Regions from separate parts of the Homo sapiens genome. Here region 1 is linked to region 2. The links are contacts of gene promoters, found by promoter capture Hi-C in blood cells and fetal thymus (Javierre and others, 2016). All regions are on one chromosome and are shown on one strand. The core of a region is centred on a gene start or on the middle of the fragment in contact, and the rest is flanking DNA. Distances in the headings are between cores, read along the strand shown. Region 1 holds the start of AFG2B (AAA ATPase AFG2B). Region 2 holds the start of FAM98B (family with sequence similarity 98 member B).

The links. Contacts are between HindIII fragments. The CHiCAGO score rates a contact against its expected background, and 5 or more counts as called.
Region 1: a fragment that was not itself captured here is called in contact with the fragment with the promoter of FAM98B in region 2 in 1 of 17 cell types (monocytes); the score reaches 7.4 in monocytes.

What each region holds. Positions count from the first base shown.
Region 1 is chr15:45,402,155-45,408,876 of GRCh38, reverse strand. It overlaps AFG2B (AAA ATPase AFG2B), which reads right to left and starts at 6,541. Exons shown (of 8, transcript NM_024063.3): 1 at 5,359-6,541; 2 at 3,372-3,557. The coding sequence starts at 6,447. It also overlaps a transcript of GATM not described here. RefSeq lists silencers at 5,709-5,858, 6,249-6,328 and an enhancer at 6,409-6,568. The HindIII fragment of the contact is 1,866 bases long and covers 560-2,425 here.
Region 2 is chr15:38,451,369-38,458,059 of GRCh38, reverse strand. It overlaps FAM98B (family with sequence similarity 98 member B), which reads right to left and starts at 3,933. Exons shown (of 8, transcript NM_173611.4): 1 at 3,828-3,933. The coding sequence starts at 3,898. RefSeq lists enhancers at 3,516-3,615, 3,676-3,785. The HindIII fragment of the contact is 3,660 bases long and covers 2,839-6,498 here.

The DNA.
Region 1 (6,722 bases), core at 243-2,742, 7.0 Mb before region 2:
CTTGCTCTGCTGCCCAGGCTGGAGTGCAGTGGCATTGAGGCAACAGCTCATTGAGCCTCGAACACCTGGGCTCAAGTGATCATTCTATCTCAGCCTCCTGAGCAGCTGGGACTACAGGTGTAAGCCACTGTGCCCAGCCTGAAAGTTTGATGAGGAGCAGGATATCTCAAAGTGTCTCCCCACAGATTTCTCATTAGTGGCAAAGGGAAAAATAGCAGTTCCACAGTGGAGAAACTGCGCACTGCCTGAACTAGTTGATAAAAGTTAGCATCACCAATGAGGAACCAATGTACACTCTGTGCCTCTACATGTGAGGCTCTAAGGACACAACACTATACATCACCATACTGTGGTGACATATGGGAACATTTCTGTTCTTAGGAAATAGACATTAAAATGTTAAGGGATAAAGTGTCATGATATATGCAACCCATTCTCTCAAATAGTCCAAAATAAATAAATACTATGTGCATATAAATACATATATATGGAGATGACAGAGAGAGAGAGAAAGAGAAGAGGAGAGGGAGCAAGGAGAGCAAAAGAGAATGATAAAGCTTATTTGGCAAAAAGTTAAAAATTGGTGAATTTGGATAAAGGGTTTAGTGGAAGTTCTTTGTAACTATCTTGCAACTTTCCTATAAGTTTTAATTATTTCAAAATAAAGACAATAATTTTAGAAGAAATCAAGGTTGAACATCTTTCATGTTTATTGTCATTCCTTTTATTGTCAACTACCTGTTCATACCCCATTACCCATTTTCTCTTGGACTGTTGGTCTTTTCTTACTGATTTGTAAGATTTGTTCATTCCCTATCAAGGAAATTGGACTAAAAGTATTTTTCCTAGTCTGACTACTTTATAGTATTGTTTTGCCACCCCCAAATGGTCAACTCAGCAAATAATCTCTTTTTTGGCTATTAAGGTTTATGTTATGCCTAGAGAAGTCGTCTTCACTCTCAGGTTATATTTTGGAGACTCTTTACATTCTCCTTGATCATTCTAGTGAAACACATTTTTTTTTGTTAGTTAAAAAGTCCTGAAAATTTTATTAAAAATATCTGTACTGTATTTATTAAAGTATTTGCCCTCTTATATCCAATTCTAAACATCTAGTTGTCCACAAATTCCCGTTTTCAAAAACAAACTGTCTTTTCTTATTTGTAAACAGATGTTAAGTGAATCTGTATGTATAGAGCTATTCTGTAAAGTATTCTCCCAAAAGTGTTAACAATTGTCATCTCTGGAAAGTGAGATTTCAGGTAGGCAGTTCTTTATAATTTTCTATCTTCATTTCTCATGAATAACCCTATTATATACTTAAAAAAAAGCCTTTTTAACTGGCTGATAGTATGTTAGGTGTCTGATGTCCAAATATTAACTAATCTTTAGGTAACACGAACTAATATTTGAAAATCTCATTTATAGTTCAAGATCATGTGTGTACACATTATTTTACTTGATTCTTTGGGCTTATACATTCTTTCCCCTCTGTGTGTGTCTGAGTGTTAAACTACAGTTCTAATCCTTTAATAGGAATACTTCACAAAAAGTTTAACAAAGTGTAAGGTATCCCTTATCTGCCCTGGTACAGGGAGAGGTAGCAGCAGCCCCTCAGCTGGTGGGGGAAAGAATAAAAGATGGAGCCAGTACCTTCCCAGTTGTCTGTCCCTTCATGCTTTTTGCCTTTCTTCCTTCCACTTCCCCTGGGTTGTTTCTGAACTCAGCCATCACCTGTGGTAACTACACCTGAGCAGGCCCCTCCTGAAGTAGCAGTGGGCTCCACCCTGGGACGACAGCAGCTGACTGGTCCACCTAAGTGAGAGGTGCTTATGGTCAAACCTGGAACTTCAAAGCAGAGGAAATCCTGAATGTAAATCTCCCTTCCCATCTCCTGCTTACTTATTGTCTCCCTCAAAAGACATCTATTCTCACATCTTTACACACAGAACTTTAAAACTTCAAGTAGTTTTGGTCTAAACCTACAAGATGAAGACTTAAAAGATCAACTAGAAGATCACATAACTCCTCCCCACCTTCGGTGTAACTGTAGAAATAAAGGAAAGGAAGTGAGGCAAGGTATAAATTATTTAGGTAAAAAGGTTTTTCAAAATTTAGGATAATAAATCATTCTTTTGCAGTTTAAGATGAAAAGACAATTTTGATGTTACAAATGAGATTGAAAACTCTGTTTCAGAATCCTTAGCCTGCTGAAATCAGTTTTTTCCTGAATGGGTTTAAGGATTCAGGACTATTTATTATATACAAAATACTGGATTTTACAACCAACAAAGTTGAAAAGTATTATATTTAATCTAATATCTTAAATATTGTTAGGAAATAGTCATGAATTACAGACCTGCAGATCAAGGACAAATTTAAATACAATTCCAAGTGCCCAATCTTCTCCTAGGTTAGAAAAGCTTATTTCTCCCACTAGATACTTATTAATAACAAAGGGAAAAACGGTATCTTGACAATGGAGAAATCTCACAGACACCACCTTAACCAAGAAATCAAAGTTAACTTCACCAGTGATAGAACAGAAACATATCATGTGCTGCCTAACAGATGCAATGAGAAAGACACAGGATCATTTCTATTATATTCCTGCCCAAAATGCAAAACCTGAATTGAATCATGAAGAAACATTAGTCAAACCCAAACTGACGAATATTCCACAGAATAACTGACTCTTAAAAAGTTATGTTTTCATAGAAGAAAGCCTGAAGTATGATTCTAGATTAAGGCCTATTTAGGTTAAGTACAAGTATTATGTCTGCGTTAATTTTCTCAGCTTGATCATCATACTGTGGTTAAGGTCCTTGTTTTTCAGAAATATACACTTACGTTTTCGCGGGTAAAGGGGCATCATGGATGTAGTATATGCTCAAATATTTCATTATATATATGTATATATATAAGGAAATACACATGAAGAGAGAATGATAAAGCAAATGTGGCAAATGTTACATTTGGAGAATCTAGGAGAAGGGTATATGGAAACTCTTTGTACTATTTTTGTAACTTCTAAGTCTGAAATTGCCTCAAAATAAAAAAATTCAAATTAAAAAAACTCTTTGATTCTTCTGGGGCCACACTATTTCTTGGCTGCTCTGGGCTTCAGCACTAGGGAGTTACTATAAGAGTAGGGAACAAATTCACTCAGTAGACCCAGAGGACTCAGCCCTTTATCCCCACCCTCAATCATATACTATTTATATAGAGTTGAGATGTAAAATGTATAAGCAACAGCTGTGGAAGCTATCAAATGTTCTAAGGAAAATGTACTCACCGCTTTTTTTTAACCCCCAAATTAATCTGTTACAATAATAGATTAACATAGATGTTCATAAATTAACACTTCTTACCTTCTCACTATGAAGGAGGGCATGCATGGCAGCCTCCCTACAGAGTGCTGTCAGGTCGGCACCAACATAGCCAACTGTCATTTCTGCAAGAAGGCCCAAATCAACATGACTGGAGATGGGCATCTTCGAGGTAATCACTTGCAGAATTTCCTTTCTTTGTTTAAGTGTGGGAGTCCCAATGACCACCTATATGCAAAGCAAAACAAAAAAAAGAAGAAGAAGTATATAGTTTAAAATATATTATTTTTAAAGTTGATCTCATGGATGGAGGTAGACAGCAGAATGATAGCAACCAGACACTGGGAAGGGTTGGGGGTGAGGGGATGAAGACAGGTTGGCTCATGGGTACAAACATACAGTTAGGTAGAAGGAATATGTGTAATGTTTGATAGTGTAGTAGGGTGACTATAGTTAACAATAATTTCTCGTATATTTCAAAATAGCTACTAGAGAGAATCTGAAATATTCCCAACACTCAGATAAGAAATGATAAATGTTTGAGGTGATGGATATCCTAAGCACCCTGATTTGATAATTACAAATTGTATGCATGTACCAAAATATCACATGTACCCCAAAACATGCACAATTATGTATCAATAAAAATAGATCAATTAAAAAAGAATTACTTCCAAAAAAATTTTATATATGTGTGTGTATACATATATATATTTTTTTTTTCTTTTTTTTTTTTTTTTGAGACACAGTTTCACTCTGCTGCCCAGTCTGGAGTGCAGCGGGCACCATCTCAGCTCACTGCAACCTCCACCTCCTGGTTCAAGTGATTCTGGTGCCTCAGCCTCCAGAGTAGCTAGAACTACAGGCATGTGCCACCATGCCCGGCTTATTTTTTGTATTTTTAGCAGAGACGGGGTTTCACCATCTTGGCCAGGCTGGTCTCGAACTCCTGACCTCAGGTGATCCACCCACCTCAGCCTCCCAAAGTATTGAGATTGCAGGCGTGAGCCACCGCGCCCGGCCAAAATAATAATATGTTTTTTATCCTGACAAACATGTACGACAATTTAGTGAACCACTTTGGAACTAGTACCGTGCACTTTACGTATACTTTAGATTCTGAATATACGAAAATCCTAATATTCCAGAGGAGTAACACTGGCTAGAAAGTTGCACAATGAAAATTCTATGTCATTTAACAAGTTTTTGTTATTTTTAAGAACACACAAAGTTCTAGAAGCCAGGTATAGATAGCTAGGTCCCTGCCCTTAAGGACACAGGTACTAGATAGTGCAAGGAAGAAATCCACTCAAGTCCTGAACTAACTGAGCTAAAAGTGTGTAATTATCATTTCTCTTTTGAATCCTATCACAAAATAGAAATATCAGTCACTAAATTTCAAACTGTTCTTTAGAATTCAAGTCAATTTAGGACCAAAGCTTAAAATAGGACAGCTCTGAATATTCAACCTCCCTGACAACTCAGGGAGCAGTTGTGGGTACCTCCTCAATTGTGGAATAGGATGCTGGTGTTATGACAAGGAATGAATAAATCCAGAAGAGTTAATGCCTGCTTCCATTTAGTTCTTCCCCACCTTCTCCCTTTTTATTTCAACACACTTACTTCTTGAGGCTATCCTTCTTTAAATTCTCATTCCAAAAAATGAGTTTAACACGCTTGTAGGTGACCAAAATTCTCTTAAGAATTAACATTACTGATTATAGGACCTGCACAACAAAATTAATCTGTAATGGACACCTCGCTTCCCAAAACAATTAGACTCTGGGGAAACAGGTCCTGACTCTCAGATCCTGACTCACAGGTCCTGACAATTTGACTCTGGGGAAATACAGGTCCTGACTCACAGATCATATATCGGCAGAGAACGTGTTCTCTGCATTGCAAAGAGCCCCAACTCCAACCTCACCGATGCTCAAACCTAAGAGGCAAACGCCTCCGGGGCAGCCAAATGGCGCCAGAAGCGGCCGAGGTTCCACCGACAGTGGGCAAACCCGCCAAGCCCATTCACCTCTCGGTCAAATCTCCCGGGCCTACGCAGCGCTGGGTCTAGAGCGTCCGGCCGGTTAGTGGCTCCCACAACCACGACCTCGCGGTCCCCACTGGCGCCGTCCAGCAGCGTCAACACCTGGGCCACTACGCGGCTCTCGGGTGCTCGACTGCCCCGCTGGGGACACAAGGCGTCCATCTCGTCCAGGAAGAGGAGGCTGGGTCCGCGGCTGGCCAGTTCCCGGGCGCGCTGGAAGACCCGCCGCACGTTCTCCTCGGTCTCCCCAGGCCGGGAACCCTGCAGCGCCGGGGCGCTGACTGCCAGCAGCTCCGCGCCCGCCTCGCGCGCCACGGCCCGCACCAGCTGGGTCTTGCCCACTCCGGGGGGCCCCGCCAGGAGCACCCCGCGAGGCACCGCTAAGCCCAGCGCGGTCAGGGCGCGCGGGTAGCGGAGCGGGAGGCGGAGGAGCTCCCGCAGCGAGTCGGCCGCCTCCGAAAGACCTCCCAGGGGCACCTCGGGCTGCGGCTGGGCTTCCGACGGAGGCTCCCCGCCAAGGCTGACGCGGGTACGAGGGGTGACCAGCCCAGCGGGATCGGGACTGGGCGTCCCGCCGACGATGTGCAAGGCAGCCACCAGGCCAGGAGCGCCTGGCGGAGCGACCACCACGTGGCCCAGGGAGATCGGTCGGTTTCTCAGCAGCTCCTGTGCCGCCTCCAGCACCGCGGCTGTATTCCGGGCACCGGGCGCGCCTGCCCGCTCTCGCAACACCGGCCACACGGCGACGCGCCGCAGGGGCGGACAGGGCACTAGGAGGAGGCGATTCAGGCTGAGACTCCTCCGGGATCTCGACGCCCCGACCGCCGCCCCGGGGCTCGCGCACAGCGGGTCCAGCTGCACAAAGCCGTCCGCTCCGTCCCGCCGAGGCCAGGCAGTGCAGAGGCAGGAGCCGCCGTCGGGTAGCGAGATCTTCACTGCCGAGCCCAAGCGCGCGCCCAGGGCGTGGAGGGCGGCCGGGCCCAGGCGGCAGCGCTGGGTGCCCCGGTCTCTAGCGTCTAAGGGTAGCAGCTTTAAGAGCGGCCCTTCAGGGAAGGGATCCGAGTCCGGAGCCATCGCACACAGATGAACCAGGCAGACGAAACCAGATTAGGAAACCCACCCGGCCCACAAAAAGCGGAACACCGAGCTCGCAGGCCGGAAGCAGATTGCGCGCATGCGCTAGGGCAGACTGCGTTGCTAGCAGCTGAGTGAAGGCCGAAAGGGCCAATGGAAACGTTAGACGACGCTCGGGCCTCTGGGTAGAGCGTTGGTGTCCGCTTTCGTGAAATCGAGTTGCCTAACCCAGAGCTTTCCCGAGATGGTCTTCGTTACAGGTGTCTGGGAGGCGG
Region 2 (6,691 bases), core at 2,684-5,183:
CTATGGGGAAGGAGGTTTTCTCCCCACCCTGGAAGAGAACAGATTACTGATTTCTGTTCTTTTGACTCTGAAAATTCTCTTTCTTAAAAAAAAAAAAAAAAAGTAAGATTGTTATTCCTACCATCTCTAGCTTTAATTATTTTTATTTTCACAAATGCCTTAAGGTCAGATAGTAGGAGTTTTGGCCTCCTTTCTTACCAAAATAGCATCATTATCACTGCTCTCCCATTATCTTATAAATATCTCCTATTTCCTTGAGGCACAGGCCACTCAGATTTGCCACCCATTCACTTGTGGTTTTCATCTATTACCTCTTGGACACTCCCCAACATCCCCTTTGCTCAGTTTTCCTCTCCACCTCTATTCTTGCCATTACACTGAGTTTCTTTAATGTCTGTATGTATACCCTATCTCACACCCTGAGCTCTCAATTCCAACCTGCACATGTCACTCAGCCCCCCTTGCACCCTTGCCATTACTTACAACCACTGCACCTCCAAAATCACTTATCCAAACATGTGGCTCCCTGACCACAACCTCTTATTTATCCTTCCACTTGCTTCTTCGACCACTCACCTATAACTATTCTTTGATATCATCATTACCTCCATTCATTGATTCCTCTGCATTCTCCATATTTACCAACTCTCTCCTATCTTCACATTCTTCTGTATCCAATTTAGATTCTAAGGTGTATCATTTCATTTTGGTGCTCAATAAATACCAACTGAAGAAATTAATCTGTTGGGGCGTGGTGGCTCACACCTGTAATCCCAACACTTTGAGAAGCCAAGGCAGGAGATCATTTGAGGCCAGGAGTTCAAGACTAGCCCGGGTATCATAACAAGACCCTGTATCTAAAAAATTTTTTAAAATAAAGAGAAATGAATCCTTGAATTTTAATATCCAATCAATCACTAAGTTCAGTAATGTAGTTCTTCCCATATCCACTGCCACTAAGCAACCATCATTTCTTTCACAGACTATTAACTAAATTCTCCAATCTATTTTCCATCTTGCTGACAGATGTAACTTTCAAACTAGACATCTAACCACTCCCTTTTTATTTAAAATTATTCGATCACATCCCATTGCTGTTATGATCAAGAATAAAATCCACAACACAGACTAAAAGGGGCTGCATGCCCTGATTTTCACCTAACTCTTGAATCCAATTTCCCACCACTCTGCCCCTCACACTCTGCCTTCCAACCACATTAGCCTCCTTCCAGTTCTTCTAATACAGCAAGCTCCTTCACATTTCAAAGTCTTCACATTTTCTTCTCACTGTAAGGATATCTTTGTCCCCCTTTTTCATCCATCCAACCTTAACTACTTAATTTCTATTCACCCTTCTTATTTCAACTCAAATGTCACTTCCTCAGGAATCTATCACTAACCCCTAAGACTTCTTAGATCCTCCTGTTACATCACCCTGTTCTTTTCCTTTGACACATTTATTATAGTTTATAATTGTTTTTGTGATCATGTCTGTTTCTCCACTAGATTATAAACTCCACAAGGGTAGGAACCAAGTCTATTTTGCTCACCACTGACTCCTCAGAACGAGGTCCAATATACAGTGTGTTCAATAAATATTTAAAGGAAACTTCTCTCCATAGTAGTGTTTCTCAACTGAGTCTGTGAATCTTTTTAAAAATATGCAGGTCTGTACTGTACCTCTGAAGATTATGATTCGGTCAGTCTATGGTATATACTAGACTGGAACAGTTTTTCACAAGTTCCACACGACTCTGATGTACTTCCAGTGTTGAGATCTACTATTCCACAAAATCAGAGACTATCAGAACTGAAAGAGACTTCTAAAATCATCTGCTCCAGCCCTCTCTTTTCACAGATGAGAAAACTGACTGACTCCTAGCCTATCCTGTTTTCACCTGTATCACTAAATTGTCCTTTCACATAGATTTTTCCCTTCAAATGCCTCCCATTAATTTATTTTACATGACAAACTGAAGTACCTTTGCTGATATCCTCAATACCTTACAACAGAAAATGCATTATTCACTATCTACATGGATATTTGAAAACACAGTGTTCCATTACAACACATATTGTAAATAACTACTTTTTTCACATCGTATTATCATAGGAGAATTCAAACTTCAAAATGTTGCCCTCATAGTTATTCCAGGAAAAACTAATTTTGGAGTGTGTAAACTGTTTTACTTTCCATGTTGAATAATCTGACTAATTTTCCTTGATAAAAATCAAGATTATAGCAATGAATTTTCTAAAACACTTATAATATGAACAATAAGTTCAAGAAATGAAGAAAGAAGAAAAGCACTGCCTTTTCCTTTTTCATAAACCATTTATGAGTTCCCAATATTCTTACCTGAAGTACTTGGGAGCTCAAACTGTTTGGAGCCTAAATAATTCTACTAAGTATTTTCAGTTCTTGTTTTGGTTCCTTCTTAACCAAGTTAAGTGAGAACTTCCAAGGGACTTCACAGAAGTAAAAATGCCCCCTAAATAATCAATGGCACTGTTCTTTCGTTTGACAAATATGTATTCACGATCTACTAAGTGCAAGACTCCGTAACCCTGGGTCACTGCAAAGTAGGTATTATCAGGGTTCAACTAAAGAAACAATTGATAGAGGGGCAAATGCAGTTTTAGAGAAGATAAAGTGGGGTGTGGGATTGGTTCAAGCTTCATAATAACGCTGCAAAGGCACAGCTTCCCCTATCAAGAAACAGCAGCACGTAGCAGGGCAAACAAATGTGCAGATGGCTCCAAGCTCTTTATTTAATGTGCACTGTATGACTCAACTATCTGGTCCTATGCTTACTGCTGTGGACTCTTCTCTAAGCTTTTCTTCATTCATTTACTCATTCATTCAACCACTATTTACTGTAAAAGACTCCGTTCTAGTGTGTTGCTGGGAAAACATCGGTGAATAAAATATGCAAAGCATCAGTTTTCCAGGAGCTGACTTGGGGAGGAGGAGGAATAAAACGAGGGAGAAGCAGAGTTCAAGAGACAAATGAATGGGCAGGACATGATAATTTGGGATGGGGACAAGAGCTGTGTGGAAAAAAACAGGATGAGGTTGAGGGGGAGATTACGAACCACCACACTTGTTAAGTATTAACATTACTCCCACCTCCACCCTGAGTTCTCACAGCACTTACCATTCTGCACTGTAAATACCAGCCGGCAGCAGACTTGCAGCCTGCGCGACTATGTAAGCCAAGAGTAATCTGAAAAACTATCCTTTTCCCTTGCCTAGGGGAAATTTACAAACGTAAATATGTGTAAATTAATATACAAGCTAATATACACGTTGACGAACGGACGAAATGGTTGAAAGAACGAACTCGCAATGAACTACAACACTTTCTCCGGTCAAAGTAAAAGCCATTCGCTCCAGAGCCCCAAGTAAGCCACAAGTTGTACATTGTAGGAGACAACAGTCCTCAACAGCAGCTCAGGTTCCAGCACCTCCCTCCGGGCGCCAGAACTACGTCAACACAAATATCACCTGCGGGCGCGAGCTAGCCCAGAAAACCGGTGCTAGAAGGGCCGCTCCGCGCCACCCGGCGGATTCCTGCAACAGAGTTTCGAGGCAAGAAGTTTCGAAGAGGGGGCCACGAACCCCAGCTCTCCGGCCCTGCTCCACCCCCCAAATAGATTTCTCTCCCGCCTCCCGCTTAACTCCGTCGGCGCCGGAGGGATCGAGGCAGGGAAGGAGGCCTACACATGGCCGCCCAGGCCCACAGAGGCCCAAGGGAAGTAGGCTAAGCAGCCAGGCCAAGGAGAGGTTGCGTTTTCAGGGAAAAGGCGTCTCCAAAAGCACTCACCCCAGCGCCTCCAGTGTGTCCAGCACGTCTCCCTCCATCGTCGGTTGGGGACCCGGCTCCGGCCCTCTCATGGTCCTTTGGCCCAGAGCTGTTCGGCGCTCTAAGTAGCCCGCCGGAAACTAGCGTCACCGCGCCAAGGTTCCGGTCCGGGTCTGGCCGGTAACTGCCTGAGAGCACAGCTGAAGAAGGGCGCAAAGGTTCCCAGCCCCGAGGCAATAAACACTTCATAGTGCCTAAAACCGCTGCGTGTAACGATAATAATTTTTTAAAAGAATAGTAGAAATAATAAATAATAGTAATAAAGAGTTCTCTGTGTTGGGACTTTTCTGTGTGTTCAAATAAATTTTAGCAAATATCGTGGTATCGGGTTGATCTCAACCTATCCGATTCCAGACCTTTTTAATAACAGAAATCTGAAATAAAATTATAATTATCTTCAGCTAAAATTAGTAACTAATATCACATGCCTACACATATAATTTTTAAATCAATATACACGACGATGCTTCAACTTGAAGGAAAAAATGAAGTAATTTATAACAAGGTAATATTTTTCTCCTTATGAAATGCGGAAGACCAATGAAGTGATCAGATGCTTGCATCTATCTATGTAGAATCCCCTCAACTGCATATTCAGATGATGTGCTTCATTGCTGACAAAGCATTAGTTGTATAAGCAACAAACATACCGCCAGCAAAGTAAGGTAGTTGATGTGGTTTTCCAAAATTGTGGCGAATTCTCTGTAAAGTTCCAAACAAACAAAACATAATATACCCTCTGTGTACTATCCATGAAGAATTCAATCTCTTATCTAAAGGATTTAAAAAATGTATTTTAGGGTTCATATGTAAAAGGTACTAAGAGTATAAGGTTAGATCATTATTAGCAGGCATGTCACCTACATGAATACTCTAGCAGAACTGTTGGAAATCCTGCATGAAGTATAACTATTGATCCCTTGTATGGACCTGTCCCTTCCATTGCAGACTACATAGCATTCGTAGCCCCAGTCCAATAAAGACCAGTAATGCTCTCGCCTTCCTAATTATGGTTACAAACAAAAAGCATACCCATAAATGTGTAAAACACTCAAAGGTAAGCTGTAGTAGTCCACTCTCATATTGCTATAAAGATATACCTGAGACTGGGTAATTTATAAAGAAAAGGGGTTTAATTGGCTCATGGTTCCACAGGCTGTACACGAAGCATGATGCTGGCATCTGCTCCACTCCTGGGGAGGCCTCAGGAAATGGACAGTTGTGGCAGAAGGGGAAGGGGGAGTGCAGCTATCACGTGGCCGGAGTAAGAGGAAGAGAGAGGGTGCAGGGAGGCAGGGAGGTGCCACACACTTTTTTTTTTTTTTTCAGTCTCGCACTGTCGCCCAGGCTAGAGTGCAGTGGCATGATCTCAGCTCACTGCAAACTCCGCCTCCCGGGTTCACGCGATTCTCCTGCCTCAGCCTCCCGAGTAGCTGGGATTACAGGCGCCCACCACCACACCCGGCTAATTTTTGTATTTTTAGTAGAGACGGGGTTTCACCAGGTTGGTCAGGCTGGTCTCGAACTCCTGACCTCGTGATCTGCCACACACTTTTAAAAAACCAGATCTCATGATAAACTCACTCACTATACAGTGCCAAGGCAGGAATGGTGTCAAACCATTCAAGAGAACTCTGCCCTCATGATCCAATCACCTCCCACCAGGTCCCTCCTCCAACATTGGGGATTATAATTTAACATGAGATTTGGGCACAGACACAGATCCTAACCATATCATAAACTCAACCATACATTTGTATAATGACTATTATTACTGTATATTTTAGTGTTGTACAAGGCTTAAGCGTAAAATTACTTGCAGTTTAATGTATCTGAATTCATCTCCAAATAAGGGAGAGGAGAATGTATATTAGTGGTTACTGCCTCTTGTCAGAGTTGGGGTGTCATAGAAGGTACTAGTCTTAGTACTCTTGGCAAAAAGTCTCTGTAAAAATCAAATAGAAATGAGGTAACTGTTCTTTATTATTATTGATCTTAAGTGTTCTGCTGCTGGTTTTCCTAAAAAATCTAAATAAATGAATAACAAAAGTTATGCACAGAAAAAGAACTAAAAACAAACAAAAAAGCATGACTGGCCTAGCATGGTGGCTCGCATCTGTAATCCCAGCACTTTGGGAGGCTGAGGTGGGAGGATCACTTGAGTCCAGGAGTTTGAGACCAGCCTGGGCAGCAAAGTGAGACCATATCTCTACAACAAATTTAAAAATTAGTCAGGTATGGTGGTATGCACTTGTAGTCCTAGCTATTGAGGAAGCTAGGGCAGGACGATCAGGATTGCTTGAGCCCAGGAGGCCGAGGCTGCAGTGAGCTGTAATCAAGCCACTGCACTCCAGCCTGGGCAACAGAGTGAGACCCTATCTCAAAAGAAAAAAAAAAGCATGACAGATATTTGAAAAAACTGAAAAGGTCTAACATAGTAAATGGAATAATTGGACTCCAACAAGACCCTTGAAAAAATGAGACAGAAGCAAGAAGAGACTCTGCTAAAAATTTCCTGACAAAACACTGATCCAAGAGCACTGTTAATGTCAACCAGGACGTATACAAAGAAATTCACAATTTAGGAAAATTTTTGTAAAAATGCTGAAAACAAAAGATAGAAGGAAAAGCTTAAAAGCAGCTGGAGAAAAAAATCAAACTTTAACAATAATATAAGCTGACTTCTCAAAAGAAACAATGGAAGCAAGAAAATCATGAAACAACATCTTTCATATGCTTTAAATAATGACAAATCCAGAATTTTACACAGTGGAAATATCCTTAAGAAATGAAGGCAAAATAAAGATGTTTTCAGATAAACAAAA